Regions from separate parts of the Homo sapiens genome. Here regions 2 and 3 are each linked to region 1. The links are contacts of gene promoters, found by promoter capture Hi-C in blood cells and fetal thymus (Javierre and others, 2016). All regions are on one chromosome and are shown on one strand. The core of a region is centred on a gene start or on the middle of the fragment in contact, and the rest is flanking DNA. Distances in the headings are between cores, read along the strand shown. Region 1 holds the start of CAMK1D (calcium/calmodulin dependent protein kinase ID). Region 2 has its middle 9.0 kb from the start of OPTN. Region 3 has its middle 46 kb from the start of CCDC3.

Region 1 (4,979 bases), core at 1,755-4,254:
CTCTGTTGACCAGGCTGGAGTGCAGTGGCATGATCTCGGCTCACTGCAACCTCTGCCTCCTGGGTTCAAGTGATTCTCCTGCCTCAGCCTCCTGAGTAGCTGGGATACAGGCGCACACCACCACGCCCGGCTAATTTTTGTAGTTTTAGCAGAGACAGGGTTTCACCATGTTGGCCGGGCTGGTCTCATACTCCTGATCTTAGGTGATCCGCCTGCCTCTGCCTCTTAAAGTGCTGGCATTTTACAGGCGTGAGCTGCCACGCCTGGCCTCAATTTCATTTCTTTATCCATTCGACACACATTTACAGATCAGTCAGTATGGGTAGGTTACCGTGTCAGGTGCTGGGAAACAGTGGCGAGAAAGTTAACAGGTGCCTTGCTCTCATGGAGCTTATAGCCTGGTAGGAAAAGTCACGGCCACAGGCCACGTGGAAGTTCTCATTTGCTTTCCCTTCATCTTTACTGTTCCTGTAAAATTGCCTTCTTTCTTTTTTTCTAATGGTTATTTTTATAGATTTAGGGGTACAAGTGCAGTTTTGTTACATGGATATATTGCGTAGTGGTGAGGTCTGGGCTTTTAGCTTAACCATCACCAGAATAGGGTACACCATGCCCATTAGTTAATTTCTCATCCCTTCCCCTACCCCACTCCAATGTCATTATTCCACACTCTCTGTCCACATATACACATTATTTAGCTCCCACTTCTTCTCCTTTTTTTTTTTTTGAGATGGAGTCTTGCTCTGTCGCCAGGCTGGAGTGCAATGGTGCAATCTTCGCTCACTGCAACCTCCTAGGTTACAGTGATTCTCCTGCCTCAGCCTCCTGAGTAGCTGGGATTACAGGCATGTGCCACCATGCCTGGCTAATTTTTATTTTTAATAGAGTTTCACCATGTTGGCCAGGCTGGTCTTGAACTCCTGACCTCAGGTGATCCACTGGCCTAGGCCTCCCAAAGTGCTGGGATTACAGGCGTGAGCCACCATGCCTAGCCTTAGCTCTCACTTCTAAGTGAGAACATGTGGTATTTGACTTTCTGTTTCTGAGTTATTTCACCTAAGATAATGGCCTTCAGTTCCAACTGCGTTGCTGCAAAAGACATGATTTCATTCTTTTTTATGGCCGGGTAGTAGAGAATCAGCACTTCTTCAGCTGTGGGGATAATAGCTGAGAATGAGAATTGTTTTCATGAGCTCTGGCGGCTGTTCCTGAGGCCAGGCAGCAAGGGCAACATAGCAGAGAACCAAATAGGAAAAGAGGAGAAGGAAACACAGTGGGAGGAAGGGAAGGAGAAAGAAAGGACAAGAAGATGCTGACTGTAGGCATGAGAAAGCGACAGTTGGGATCTTAGTTGACTTATGCCCTGGTTCCCACTGTTTGTATTATCTAACCTTTGGCACAAGTAAAATACATGATAGTTTTTCAAATGTTTCTTATTGAAGGGGATGCTGTTTGCCTTGAACTTTGGTAATGTGCCTCAAGTATAAGAGAGGTTCCTTAGTAATTCTTCTCACCCATCCGTGTTGGAAATTGGGTTTGTGGATTTATTCTACATCTAACCGGCAAGTAAATCCCCTCTTTGCTCTTCTCAGTTTGGAAAACCTTAAGCTAACCGTCTTTGAAAGATGGAAACTAGCATGGAGGTCCCAGGAATGGGGATGCCAGGGTGTCGTCTGACCTCTTTAGGGTCAGAGTAGGGGCTGAGGGAGAGCAGCTGGGCTGCCTCCACTTCAGCCAGAGTCAGAACTAGGCACAAGGTGCTGGATGAAGTTTCCTATTCAGGGAGCAGATTTTTTTTTTCCTTTTACAGTGAAATTGGAACAGTCCTGGGAAAATGGGACAGGTGTCCCCAGTCAAGAGACAGAGCTGTTTACCCAACTACGAGGAGAGGCCCTGAGGGAGGCGAAGTGTTGATACCAAGAAATCTAAAATTTTCCGATCAAGAGGTCGCCCCTGCAGGTTGGGGACCAGGGAACTGGAGCACGTGGGCTGCCCTCTGACAGGTGGACACCAGGAGTGGGGCGGGCAGGCCAAAGTACAGCTGGGAGATGGGAGTCCGGAGGGAATTCTCTGGGTTAGTTTTGGCAGTCCATAGGAAAGCAGGTGCCTGCCCCGCAACCCGGACACCCTACTAAGCCAGCCGCGGGTGGGCTCCTCCTTCGAGGGGACTGCGGGGCAGACGATCACTTCTTTCCACTGAGTCTCTGGGAGGAGACAGGGAGATGCCAGAAGGGGCCAAGCGTGAGCCAGGGCAACCAGGCCGGCCAGGCCCGCCGGCCGCTCCAGCCCAGCACCAGGGCGCCCGCGCGGCTGCCAAACACCCCCGGGAGTTTTGCTCGCAAAGGGACCACGAGGCAGCTGCTGGCGCGTCCTGCGCGTACCCGCCCAGAGGCTCCCCGGCTTGCTCCTCGCGGGTCTGTCCCGAAACTGACGTGAAACCGATTTGGTGCAATGCGAATGAGCTCCCGCCCGCCTCCGCCTCCATCCCAGCCGCCGCCGCCGCCCGTCGCCATAACAACCGGCCCCCACCCCCCCCACCCCACGCCTTGCCCCTCGGGTCCCCCGGGCCACAGGCCACAGCGCGGGAAGGCGCCCCGCCCTCGGCGCCCCGCATCCGGCCGCCGCGCACCCCCGCCCGCCCGGCGCTTCCGAGCCACGCAGAGGCGCCCCCTCCCGCCGGAGACGGGAAAGCCCCGGCGCCCCCAGACTGGGCTCCGTTTCCAGCTCCCGGAGGGGCTGGGGCTCTCCCGCGTGCGCCCCGCACCTGCCGGGGGCCCGTACCCGCCCTCGCCGGGGCTCCAGGGGGCACGACGGCCGTGGCCCGGCGCTCTTGGGAGGGGAGCGGGACATCCCCGAAGGCGGCGCGCTGGAGGCGGGGAGCGGCCGGGGCGCACGGAGAGGGCGGGGAGCCCGCGGGAGGGGGAGGAGGGGGAGGAGGGGGAGGAGGCGCGAGGTGGGGGGGAGCGCGGCGGGCGGCAGGGAGGGAGCGGGAGGGAGGCAAGAAAGTAGCAGAAAGTGAGGCTGGCAGGCGGCGGCAAAGGAGCCGGCGCGCGGCGGCGGCAGGAAGTCTGTGCCCGAGAACAGCAGAAATAAGAGCCAGGGAGGGACCGCGGCCGCGGCGGCGGCGGCGAGAGCGAAAGAGGAAACTGCAGAGGAGGAAGCTGCGCCGCAGCCCGAGCCGCCCGGCATCCCCGCCGCCTCTGCGCCCGCGCCGCGCCCCCGGCGCCCCCTCCCCAGCGCGCCCCCGGCCGCTCCTCCGCGCCGCGCTCGTCGGCCATGGCCCGGGAGAACGGCGAGAGCAGCTCCTCCTGGAAAAAGCAAGCTGAAGACATCAAGAAGATCTTCGAGTTCAAAGAGACCCTCGGAACGTAAGTGGGGACCGGGGAGGCGAGGGTGGAGGTGGCCGCGGCAGGGGCTGCACGGGCAGCTCCAGCTGCCGCCGCCGCCACTACCGCGGCAGAAACCCAGCCTGTCACCGCGTCCTCATTGTCCCGTTCTCGGCGCTGCGGAGCCCCCCCGAGCGCGCCCGACGCGTGGGCCTGCGACCCCCGGGTGGGCGCCGTTCCCGGGAGGGGGAGGGGGCAGCGCCGGGCTGTCAGGGAGCAGCCCACGCGGGCGCGCGACTTCCCACTTCTCCTGCCACCGCCGCCCTCTCCGCTGCCTTCTCCCCACGCGTGACTGTGGGCTGAGCATGGTGGGGATGGCTGTTTACCGGCTGTGTGCGTTTACTCGCCGTGTGCATGGGCGCACCGCGTTGGCGAGACGTGGTCACGAGAAGATCAGCCTCCAGTCGTTCCCATTTCTGTCCTTACATCATGTATTTCTATGGAATTGGCATCTGCACGTACGAGGTGTAGGCAAGACTTTGGGTGGCCACGCGAGGATGGAAGGGAAGGGCTTCGCAGTGCTCAGGGTCACACGTGGGCAGAGCCTCACCGGAGGGTCTGTGCATTTCACGCGGGCTCGGCCGCACGCGCCGGGGAGCGCGTCTCCAAGGGAGGGTCTGTGCGCGTCGCTGCGCGGGCGGTGCTCTCTCCGGGCTGCATCGAGTCCCATGCTGATGGCTGTGTCTCAAGAAAGCAGAAATAATCCGAAGTCGATGGCAGGAACGCTCCAAGCATGTGCTGCTCAGCTCAGCTGCTGTTCCCTTTCTGCCCAGGAGTTGGGTCTTGTTTGTTTTGTTTCGGAGCGGCTCAGAATAGGTGGGGAGGCTGATAGTGAAAGAGAATCAGGACCTGCCGAATGAGTCTGAAGTTCAAGTTATTTCCTTCCCTCACACAATCAGTATTTGCTCTGCATCAGTATCTGTCAGTGTGGATTCACGCACAGGTGTGCAGTCAGAAATGCCCATTTTGCAGGGGTTCATGGAGGTGTTGATTAGGCTGGGAAGAGAAAGGGGAGCTATTTCATGGGATAAATCAGTGCGTTGTTGGGTGCCCTTTCTTTCCTTCCTCCTTTTTTTCCGTGTGCTTGTTTTTGTGCTTGGTTTCTTTTTTCCAGCACCACATTACCCAGCTTGTCTTCACCTCCAGGCTCGGCGTCTGCTGCTGTTCAGTCATTTCCCCTCACCCCCACGCAGATCTGCAGGGGGTCCCCCGGAGAGAAGTTGTGAGGGTGGCTTTCCCAGTCCTGCTTCTGATTCCCGGGAAGGCGCACGCTGAGGACTAGAGTGGGGTCTCCCTGCTGTGGTTGTTGCCTTTCAGGGAGGGCACCTATTTGCTATCTTTGTTGGAATGAAAACAGAAAAAGATGTAGCTTTTTAATAAATAGGGGTTTGGGGTTGCCTCTTAGTGCAGCCAGGTAAGGGGTTAGTTTGGGTCAAAACTTTTGAAAATTGCCACTGAGGTTTATTCGGGTTTGGGGTTGTGATTCTGAGATGCTCAAGTTACTGAGAGACAAGAAAGCATGGCCTTTGCTTGTCATCCAGGACCCGCACTGTGGCCGCCAATGAGGAGATGGGAGAGCATGGGGACCCACCC
Region 2 (4,979 bases), core at 1,152-3,651, 740 kb after region 1:
GAAAGCATTTTTAAAAAATTAACTGAATATTAGCTGGGCGCAGTGGCTCACGCCTGTAATCCCAGCACTTCGGGAGGCCAAGGCAGGAGGATCACCTGAGGTCAGGAGTTCGAGACCAGCCTGGCCAATATAGTGAAACCTACTAAAAATACCAAAATTAGTCAGGTATGGTGGCGGGCACCTGTAGCTACTCAGGAGGGTGAGGCAGGAGAATCATTTGAACCCTAGAGGCAAAGGTTGTAGTGAGCTAAGATCGTGCCACTGCACTCCAGCCTGGGTGACAGAGTGAGACTGTCTCAAAAAAAAAAAAAAATAAAAGAAGAAAGAAATATTAACTGGATATTGAGATATATGTAGAACAGGTCTACGACAAATTCCCTCCTCAAATTCTCCAGGTTCTGATTCAGATCCAAAAACTACACAGCGGACCATATAAAATACATCTTAGAGCTTACAGATAGTGGCTAACTCTTTAGAAAGAGTCGTCTTAAAGTAGTAACTTTATTTGTTTAACACTTATTTATGAATATTTATAAATGAACACTTATGAATATTTGTAAGTGAACACTTATTTATGAATATTTGTAAGTGAACATTTCTTTATGTTTAACACTTATTATGAATTCTTTATATGAATCATATAAAGAATGCAAGTAAACAACTTAGTACTATTGTTATATTCTTTGAAGTTGCTGGGACTATTGTCCCATCACTTGATTAGAGTCTTCAATTCTCAAACTTGCTTTTCTGTCCCCATTCCTCGGGGTACTCTGGCCCCGGACACCTTCAATGCCCTCTCCTTCCTGATACTTTTCCTCACTTGACTTCGGGGACATTGCTCTCTCCTAGTTTCGCTTTCTCTTATCTGGATGCTCCCTCTTCTCTCCTCTCCAACTTTTTATTTTCTTTCAGCACCCCCCCTTAAATTGGAGGAATTCTCTAGAATTCAGCCATTTTTTTAAATTTAAATTTTAATTTTTTTATTTCCAAAGGTTATTGGGGAGCAGGTGGTGTTTGGTTACAGGGATAAGTTTTTTACTGGTGGTTTGTGAGATTTTGGTGCTCCCATCACCCGAGCAGTGGACACTGCACCCAATTTGTAGCCTTTTATCCCCCACCCCCCTCCCACCCTTTCTCCGTGAGTTCCCAAAGTCCATTGTGTCATTCTTACGCCATTGCATCCTCACTGCTGTGAGTGAGAACATACGATGTTTGGTTTTCCATGCCTGAGTTACTTCACTTAGAATAATAGCCTCCAATCTCATCCAGGTTGCTGCAAATACCATTAATTCATTCCTTTTTATGGCTGAGTAGTATTCCGTTAGATATATATATATATATATATATATATATATATATATATATATATCACCGTTTCTTTCTTTTTTTTTTTTTTTTGTGTCAGAGTCTCATTCTGTCACCAGGCTGGAGTGCGGTGGTGTGATCTCAGCTCACTGCAATCTCCACCACCTAGGTTCAAGCGAGTCCCCTGCCTCAGCCTCCCAAGTAGCTGGGACTACAGGTGCGTGCCACCATGCCTAGCTAATTTATTTTGTATTTTAGGAGAGACAAGGTTTCACCATGTTGGCCAGATTGTCTTGATCTCCTGACCTCGTTATCCACCTGCCTTGGCCTCCCAAAGTGCTAGGATTACAGGTTTGAGCCACCGCACCTGGCCATACCATTTCTTTATCCACTCATTGATTGATGGGCATTTGGGTTGGTTCCACATTTTTGCAATTGCAAATTGTGCTAGAATTCAGCCCTTTTAGAGGAGGTCTCTGAGAAGGACTAAGTCCATATTTCCAAGCTTAATCTCTATCCTGAGGTTCAGGCCCATTTTTCCAAATAGGTGTGGACCTCTTCATTCACCTATCCCACAAGTAATGCAAGTTACTCAGAACTAATCTCCTTCCCCCAGGGCAGCTGCCTGTCCTGGGTTTCTCATCTGCTAGGGTCTAAATGTTTGTGTCCTCCCAAAATCCATAGATTGAAATCCTCACCGGCAGGTGAGGGTATTAGGAGGTGTTATTAGTCAGGGTTCTCTAGAGGGACAGAAGTAAAAGGACAGATGCATATATTGAAGGGAGTTTATTAAGGAGAATTGACTCACACGATCACAGGGTGAAGTCCCATGACAGGCTGTCTGGAAGCTGAGGAGCAAGGAAGCCAGTAGTGGCTCAGTCCAAGTCCCAAAGCCTCAAAAGTAGGGAAGCTGACAGTGCAGCCTTCAGTCTGTGGCCAAAAGCCTGAGAGCCCCCAGCAAACCACTGCAGTAAGTCCTAGAGTCCAAGGGCCGAAGAACTTGGAGTCTGATGTTCAAGGGCAGGAAGCATCCAGCACAGGAGAAAGATGAAGTCTGGAAGACTCAGCAAGTCTGCCCTTCCACCTTCTTCTGCCTGCTTTTTCTAGCCTCACTGGCAACCAACTGGATGGTGCCCACCCAGATTGAGGGTGGGCCTGCCTCTCCCAGTCCACTGAAGCAAATCTTAATATCCTCTGGCAACCCACTCACAGACATACCCAGAAACAATATTTTGCATCCTTCAATCTGATCAAGTTGACACTCAATATTAGCCATCACAGGAGGTGAAGCCTTTTGGGGGGTGATTAGGTCATGAGAGGAGAGCCCTCACAAATGAGATTAGTGCCCTCATGAAAGAGACCCCAGAGAGCTGCATCAACCCTTCCACCACATGAGGACACTGCAAGATGATGTCTATGAACCAGGAGGCAGGCCCTCACCAGACACTGCCAGTGCCTTGATCTTGGACTTCCCAGCCTCCAGAACTGTGAGAAATCAATTTCTATTTATAAGCCACTCTGTTTATGGTATTTTGTTATAACAGCCAGGATGGACAAAAACACCATCTCAGCTAATACTGCTACCCTCCATTCAGTCGCCCAACGCAGAAATGTTCGCCTTCAACAACTCCCTTCATCTCCTCAGGTACATCTCATCATCCTAAAGTTCTCTCCCCTCCATCTGCATAAAAGCTTCCAAGCATAACCCCTTTTAAATAACAGAGTCAAATACATAACCTTTTTTTGTAGCCAAGATGGAAGTTCCCTAAGTGTCTGATTTCAAGCTTACTGAGAAAAGCCCAATCCAAAAAAAAAAAAAAAAAAAAATTCCTCCTTGCTGGCAGATCCTGAAATCCCTTTGGCAGACAAGGTTTTTATTGCAGAATTAGAAATAATCCTAAATGCCAGAGGCTCTGGAAAGATGCCACCTGAAATTGAAAGGACACCAAAGTGTCAATGTTGTGTCATACAGCCTTGCAGTGAAAAGGGCTGATGGTGGGAGGAGAGGGGAGGGTGGCAGATAAGAGCAAAGAAGAAAGAGTGCAGGGTGCAGATAGCTGCAGCAAAGGTGGTGGAGGCGGGCACACTGTGAACATACAAAGAAAGTTCGCTTGAGCCAACCAAGCCAGAATCAACTAAAATATACTTTTGTGCTGAAGGTGAATTAAACAATTCGTGAGTATGGGAACCAAGGTAGACAGGAAATCATTTTATAAAAAGATTCACAGAGACTCTTCTCTTGTTTCTATAATAAACAGAATGGAGCCACTTCCCAGAATTATAATAAGACACAGTGAATGGGAAAGTTCTAAATTTATGTAAGATCAGCTTTTGAAGTCTCTGAAATCGTTGCAATGGGAAATACTGCCTAAGTGCTTCCAAGTTCACTAACAGATCTTCCTCTAGGAGTTTTCACAGCCAACCCTTCAAAACTTGGCCACCTTTGCCATAATAGTCCATGAATATCCAATTGTCTCTGCAAGAAGTCTGTTATGACTGGGATTTCTTTCTGCCTCCCTTGGGTCAGATCAAATTAACTTGGTAAGAATTGCTTTCTGTAAAGCTAACTCACATTGGAGTAACCCCCGTGTGACCTAAGGCATCTTCTCCCCTGGCTCCCAGTAGATTCAGAAAAAGGAATGGATGAGGTCAGGAATAACACAGGGGTGACCAGTTGCAAAATTTAAAGATATAGCAGCTGGAGAAGTGAACCATAGGCCTTAGGAAAGAAAGAAGCAAAATGTTGCTGGCATCCAGCTGTGCAGATCTGATGAGACCAGCCGCCCAGAAATCTGTGTTACTGCTCCAGAAGACAATGCAATGTGCCTACAAATTTAATGACTGTCTCCTGGCCTATAACAGGGGAGCAGGAACTCTGCCCGCAAAGCCGAAAAGGGTCAAGGCAACCTGGTGAGAGAAATGTTGACTTTTCGTGGGTATAAAAGGCACAGACAATCTAGCTAAGGCAGGTGTATTGTGATCTAGTGGAAAGTCATGTATGAACCCCTCACCTTTTTTTTTTTTTTTTTTTTCAAAAACAAAGGAGTTACTGACTTTTCAAACCGCAAAATCATTTATGACAATTTAACCAGCTGTATTAGTCTGTTTTCATGCTGCTGATAAAGATATACCTGATACTGGGTGATTTATAAAGAAAAAGAGGTTTAATGGACTCACAGTTCCACGTGGCTGGGGAGGCCTCACAATCATAGCGGAAGGCGAAAAGCACATCTTACATGGCGGCAGGCAAGAGAGAGAATGAGAACCAAGTGAAAGGGGTTTCCCCTTATAAAACCATCACATCTCGTGAGACTTATTCACTACCATGAGAACAGTATGGAGGAAAACACCCCCATGATTCAATTATCTCCCACCAGGTCCCTCCCACAACACACGGGAATTATGGAAGCTACAATTCAAGATGAGATTTGGGTGGGGACACAGCCAAACCATATCACCAGCCAAGTATTAAGTCAACCTCTACAGAAGGAAGAGGCTTAAATTCAAATTAATTTGGCATCTACTAAAATTGTATACCAAATATAAGAAATGAAAAACAAATTCTAATTTTTTTCAAGCTGGAGAGAAGCTAAGAGGTTATCTATCTTAGCCCCTGACTTCCCTCACTGATGAAGAGGTCAAGGCCTAGGGGTGAGTTCTCAGGTAGGGCCGAG
Region 3 (4,979 bases), core at 1,593-4,092, 700 kb after region 1:
AGCTCTTACATGACTTCTAACAATGTTTCCCATGGAATCTAAATGCCATAGCAATTTCATATCAAACATAATTCAATTTAAACATACACGAACAAGCTCATCTTTAACAGGCAAAAAATTACTCCATTTACTGCTTAAACTTGTATTTCCATTCTACTTTCCCTACATTATATTATGTTAATGTGATATATTCAATGCCTGAAATTCTTTTATTGACCACTCATAATTATCTACGACAAAAGCATGCATATAAATTGAAATTAATTTTTAAAATTTTCTGTGACCATATGGCTCCAGGTATCAAAGAAATCTCTCTGGACTGAATTACCATTATAGGTAGTGTTAATATGCAATTTATCAAAATAACAAATATATTTTTAAGAAATTATTGGCTGGGCGCGGTGGCTCATGCCTGTAATCGCAGCACTTTGTGAGGTCAAGGCAGGCGGATCACAAGGGCACCATCCTGGCTAACAAAGTGAAACCCTGTCTCTACTAAAAATACAAAAAATAAGGCCACGCACCTGTAGACCCAGCTACTCAAGAGGCTGAGGCAGGAGAATCGCTTGAACCTGGGAGACAGGGGTTGCAGTCAGCCAAGATTGCACCACCGTACTCCAGCCTGGGCAACAGAGCAAGACTCTGCCTCAAAACAAACAAACAAACAAAATATATATACATAACATAAAAATTAGAATTTTATTGGGGAAACTATTCTTCATTCCACTTCTTACTAAAATAGGCAGGGTCCTCATCAACATTTTTCTCATTTTACAATTATTGTTGCTACTGCTACCGTAAGCACTATAAAACTTTTTTCATGTAAAGAAGTATATAAGCGGCCAGGAGCAGCAGCTCACGCCTGTAATCCCAGCACTTTGGGAGGCCGAGATGGGGGGATCATGAGGTCAAGAGTTCAAGACCAGCCAGGCCAAGTTGGTGAAACCCCATCTCTAGGAAAAATACAAAAATTAGCCGGGTGCGGTGGCATGCACCTGAAATCCCAGCTACTCAGGAAGGCTGAGGCAGGAGAAGCACTTGAACCCCAGGAGGCAGAGGTTGCAGTAAGCTGAGATCGTGCCACTGGACTCCAGCCTGGGTGACAGAGTGAGACTCCATCTCCAAAACAAAACAAAACAAAAAAAGAAGTACATAAGCTGGGCATGGTTGCTCATTCCTGTAATCCCAGCACCTTGGGAGGCCAAGGCAGGAGGATTGCTTCAGCCCAGGAGTTAGAGACCAGCTTGGGCAACATAGTGAGACCTCATCTCTACAACAAATAAAAACATTAGCTGGGCATGATGACTCACACCTGTAGTCCCAGTTGCTAGGGAGGCTGAGTTGGGAGCATCCCTTGAGCCCAGGAGTATGAGGCTGCAGTGAGCCGTGATCGCGTCACTTCATTCCAGCCTGGGCAACAGAGCAAGACCCTGTCTCAAAAAAAGAAAAAAAAAAAGGCCAGGTGCGGTGGCTCATGCCTGTAATCCCAGCACTTTGGGAGGCCGAGGTGGATCACCTGATGTCAGGAGTTCAAGACCAGCCTGGCCAATGTGGTGAAACCCCATCTCTACTAAAAATACAAAAAAAAATTAGCCAGGTGTGGTGGGGCATGCCTGTAATCCCAGCTACTCAGGAGGCTGAGGCAGGAGAATTGCTTGAACCTGGGAGGCGGAGGTTGCAGTAAGCTGAGACCGGGCCATTGCACTCCCGCCTGGGCAACAAGAGCGAAACTCCGTCTCAAAAAAAAAAAAAAAGAAGAAGAAGAAGAAGTAGACAAGAATGGAAGCAATTTTATCAAGCAGTATCAATTATTACTCAAGCTCCTTCAGATACAGTGATCTATCATCGAAAATATTTAATGATCTAATTCTCTGACAACTCAATTAGGTCTCCTCTCAAATTTCATGAAAGCAAAGAATTAGAAATCATCTGATCTGCAAAAAGATTTATTACTTAGTCAATAGAATCATTCACTTTCTAAAAAAAAAAAAAAAGAAGAAGCCAATCCAGCAATTTGTCTGGCAACCCAGATATCTGTTCACCCTGGGGCAATGCACCCTAGTAAGATGAGAGAGGGTGAGGGATGTTTTGCATTTATGAAGCAGCTGTTACGAAAGAGGAGACAGAACAGAGAGACTCCATTTAGCGGCAATGGCTCATCGCCATTCAGTTCTCACCAGAACAATTATAGGAAAGAACGCATGGAAATTGTGGACCCAGAATTTAAAAAGAACAAAAACCATGTACCTGTGTAGCCTTAGAAAGTCCTCTTGTGACCCTGAAGATGGGCATACCCAAATTTGAAGCCCATGGGTTTGAAAAGTCCCCATTAAACTGGTAGGTGAGTCTCCATGGAGCTGGTGACAGACCGGCAGCTGGAGCTTCCTTGACATCTCCGGGTGGCTCTCTCCAGCCTGGGCTTTGTGGATCACAGTGCCCTTTGAAATGTTAGGGATCCCCAGGAAAAAGGGATTCTCAGGACAAAAAGTTTGGGGAAAGCTTTCTATTCTTTCTGCCTCTTACAGATTCACAATAAAATCTGCATAGCAAAGACTAAAGAAACCTGCTTAATTTTGTGTAATGCAAAATTTCCCAAACTAACCTGGCTCTCCCCTCCCGCCTCCTTCTTTCACACAGAATGCCTGGGTACATATAAAGAGACTTCAGTAATCTGCTCCGGAGCCCAGTGTGGTCCTGGCAACTGCAAGCTGGATCTCCATCCGTGCCCTCCCTATGAGACCTGGGTGATTCCTGTTAGCCATGGGCCTCTCTAAAGCTCTCCAGAGGGACTAAGGCCTGAGATCGGTTTGTTTTCTTGTGTGAACCAAAAAGCATCTGAGACAGGTCTCAATCAACTTAGAAGTTTATTTTGCCAAGGTTAGGGACGCGCCGGAAGAAATAAACATGGAGTCCCAGAAACAGTCTGTGGTCTCTGCCTTTCTCCAAAGACGATTTTGAGGGCTTAAAGGGGGAAAGCAGGCTGGAGGGAAAGGAGGAAGGATATGGTCACATGACTGAATCCACACGTTGCAAGAGAAAAGGAGCAAGTAGGGGAATAGTCAATTATGTATGCACCTCACGCGCAATGTAAGGTGAATTGAGTAACTATCTGCGGGGATGTTTTGTATTTTATCCATAGCTATCTTAGGAACAAAAGAAAAGGTAGCTTCTTGCATGACTCTGCTTTAAGCTTAATTTTTTTTCTTTTGGCAGAGTGAATTGAGGTCCCAATTATTTTTTTTTAGACGGAGTCTCGCTCTGTTGCCAGACTGGAGTGCAGTGGCGCGATCTCAGCTCACTGCAGCCTCTGCCTCCCAGGTTCAAGCAATTCTCCTGCCTCAGCCTCCCTAGTAGCAGGGACTACAGGTGCGCACCACCACACCTGGCTAATTTTTTTGTATTTTTACTAGAGACGGGGTTTCACCATGTTGGCCAGGACAGTCTTGATTTCCTGACCTTGTGATCTGCCCACCTCGGCCTCCCAAAGTGCTGGGATTACAGGTGTGAGCCACTGCACCTGGCCAGGGTCCCAAGTTTTTATTCTCCTTTTACACTTGCACTTTACGGATTCTGTTACCTATTCAGAAAATGCTACTTTCCTATTGATGCCATTCACTTTTAGATGGAGACTCTCATATAATTGGGAGGTTTCTATGATATTCACTTTGGGCAACACCCACTGCAGACAGGAACTTGAAGGTGTTTCCTAAGTGTTACCTCCACAAGCAGATGAGTCAACTTGGCAGGTCGCTAGCTGTCCCTGTGGGTCCCCTGGTCATCAATAGTATGGTGCCAGCTGAGAAGGGATTAAAATTAGATGTAAAGTAAAAAATCCAAATATTTAAGAGTAAGGAGTGTGTGTAAGAGAGAGGGAGATTGTGTCTGAAAACATATGCCTGTCTTTCATCATACCTAGAGCCACGTGGTCTTTTTTTTAATCATCTGGCTTATATTTTCCATTTTTCATTGCACAACACCAAGAGTTGGCTACATAGTCATGATGAAGATGAGCATACAAATTCCAAGTGTCACAACTGGAGAGGGAGGCCTCCTAAGTTGTTCATGGGAATGAGGATCAGATCACCTGACTCGATACAGGCTTTGGGACATCTTAGGCATCTAATCTCTCTAATCCACTGAAGAGACACAATAACGAGCCCCAGCTATCCCTTCCCTTTTCATCAAGAAGACTGCACATTAGAGATTAGTCAATATTCTATGCACAAATCATAAATATTTGGTGAATAAGGAGATCAGTTAGATTCTCCATCCTTGATTGCAGCTCAAAATTCAAACAAATCAATCAGTACCTGCTGGGGGGAAAAAGCCTGTAGAGCACTTTTTTTTCTTGAAATACAAGAATCATGAAGGGAATAAATATTAACTTTATTCCCTTATTCAGAACAAGTGAATTGGATGGCGCCAATGGCAAACAACATGGATTCCTGGCTCTGCTTCAGCCAAAATGCATTTTGCTCTTTGGAACCCTCAGTTCCAACCTGTGACGCTGGAAAAGTACTAATGAATTTGTATGAGGCTCCACAAACCAAGGAGGGCAAAGCAGAGAATAGCTGGAATAAATGAGATGAAGAGCGAAAAGTAACTTTTTATTTCAAAACAACTAGAGATTTCTTGGAGAATTATATTTTTTTAAACGCCCTTTTATGGGAAAACAAAGGCAGCAGAAATCAAATGGCTTACTTACGTTTAAAGGGGAGTTTGGCAGCTGAAATGTGATGGAAATAGACTCTTCGCTCTCCAGGTCACAGAGAAGGCTGCCCAGAAGAGCCCTGGGAGAGACAACACCATCGACACCTCAGACCACCCTTTCTGGAGGGCGGGTGTGTTAAGTTCTTATTAAAAATTTATCCAGGTGTGGAGAACAGCTGTAGCTGATTTCTTCAGCATGCCTCTGCCAATTTCCCAAGAAAAAGAAACAATATTTTTCTCTCCACTGCTCTTCCAAGAAGTAGCTGAGG

What was found. The method cuts DNA at HindIII sites, captures the fragments that hold promoters and counts their contacts. A CHiCAGO score of 5 or more calls a contact.
Region 2: a fragment that was not itself captured here is called in contact with the fragment with the promoter of CAMK1D in region 1 in 1 of 17 cell types (erythroblasts); the score reaches 6.7 in erythroblasts.
Region 3: a contact is called between a fragment that was not itself captured here and the fragment with the promoter of CAMK1D in region 1, in 1 of 17 cell types (endothelial precursors). The highest score is 5.5, in endothelial precursors.

What each region holds. Positions count from the first base shown.
Region 1 is chr10:12,346,543-12,351,521 of GRCh38, forward strand. CAMK1D (calcium/calmodulin dependent protein kinase ID) reads left to right here and starts at 3,005. Exons shown (of 11, transcript NM_153498.4): 1 at 3,005-3,368. The coding sequence starts at 3,277. RefSeq lists silencers at 2,164-2,423, 2,464-3,023, 3,194-3,283 and enhancers at 3,320-3,819, 3,994-4,153. The HindIII fragment of the contact is 10,581 bases long and covers 1-4,979 here.
Region 2 is chr10:13,088,710-13,093,688 of GRCh38, forward strand. It overlaps a transcript of CCDC3 not described here. Among named protein-coding and RNA genes, the nearest start is that of OPTN, 9.0 kb to the right of the region's middle. The HindIII fragment of the contact is 1,187 bases long and covers 1,809-2,995 here.
Region 3 is chr10:13,044,969-13,049,947 of GRCh38, forward strand. It overlaps a transcript of CCDC3 not described here. Among named protein-coding and RNA genes, the nearest start is that of CCDC3, 46 kb to the left of the region's middle. The HindIII fragment of the contact is 691 bases long and covers 2,498-3,188 here.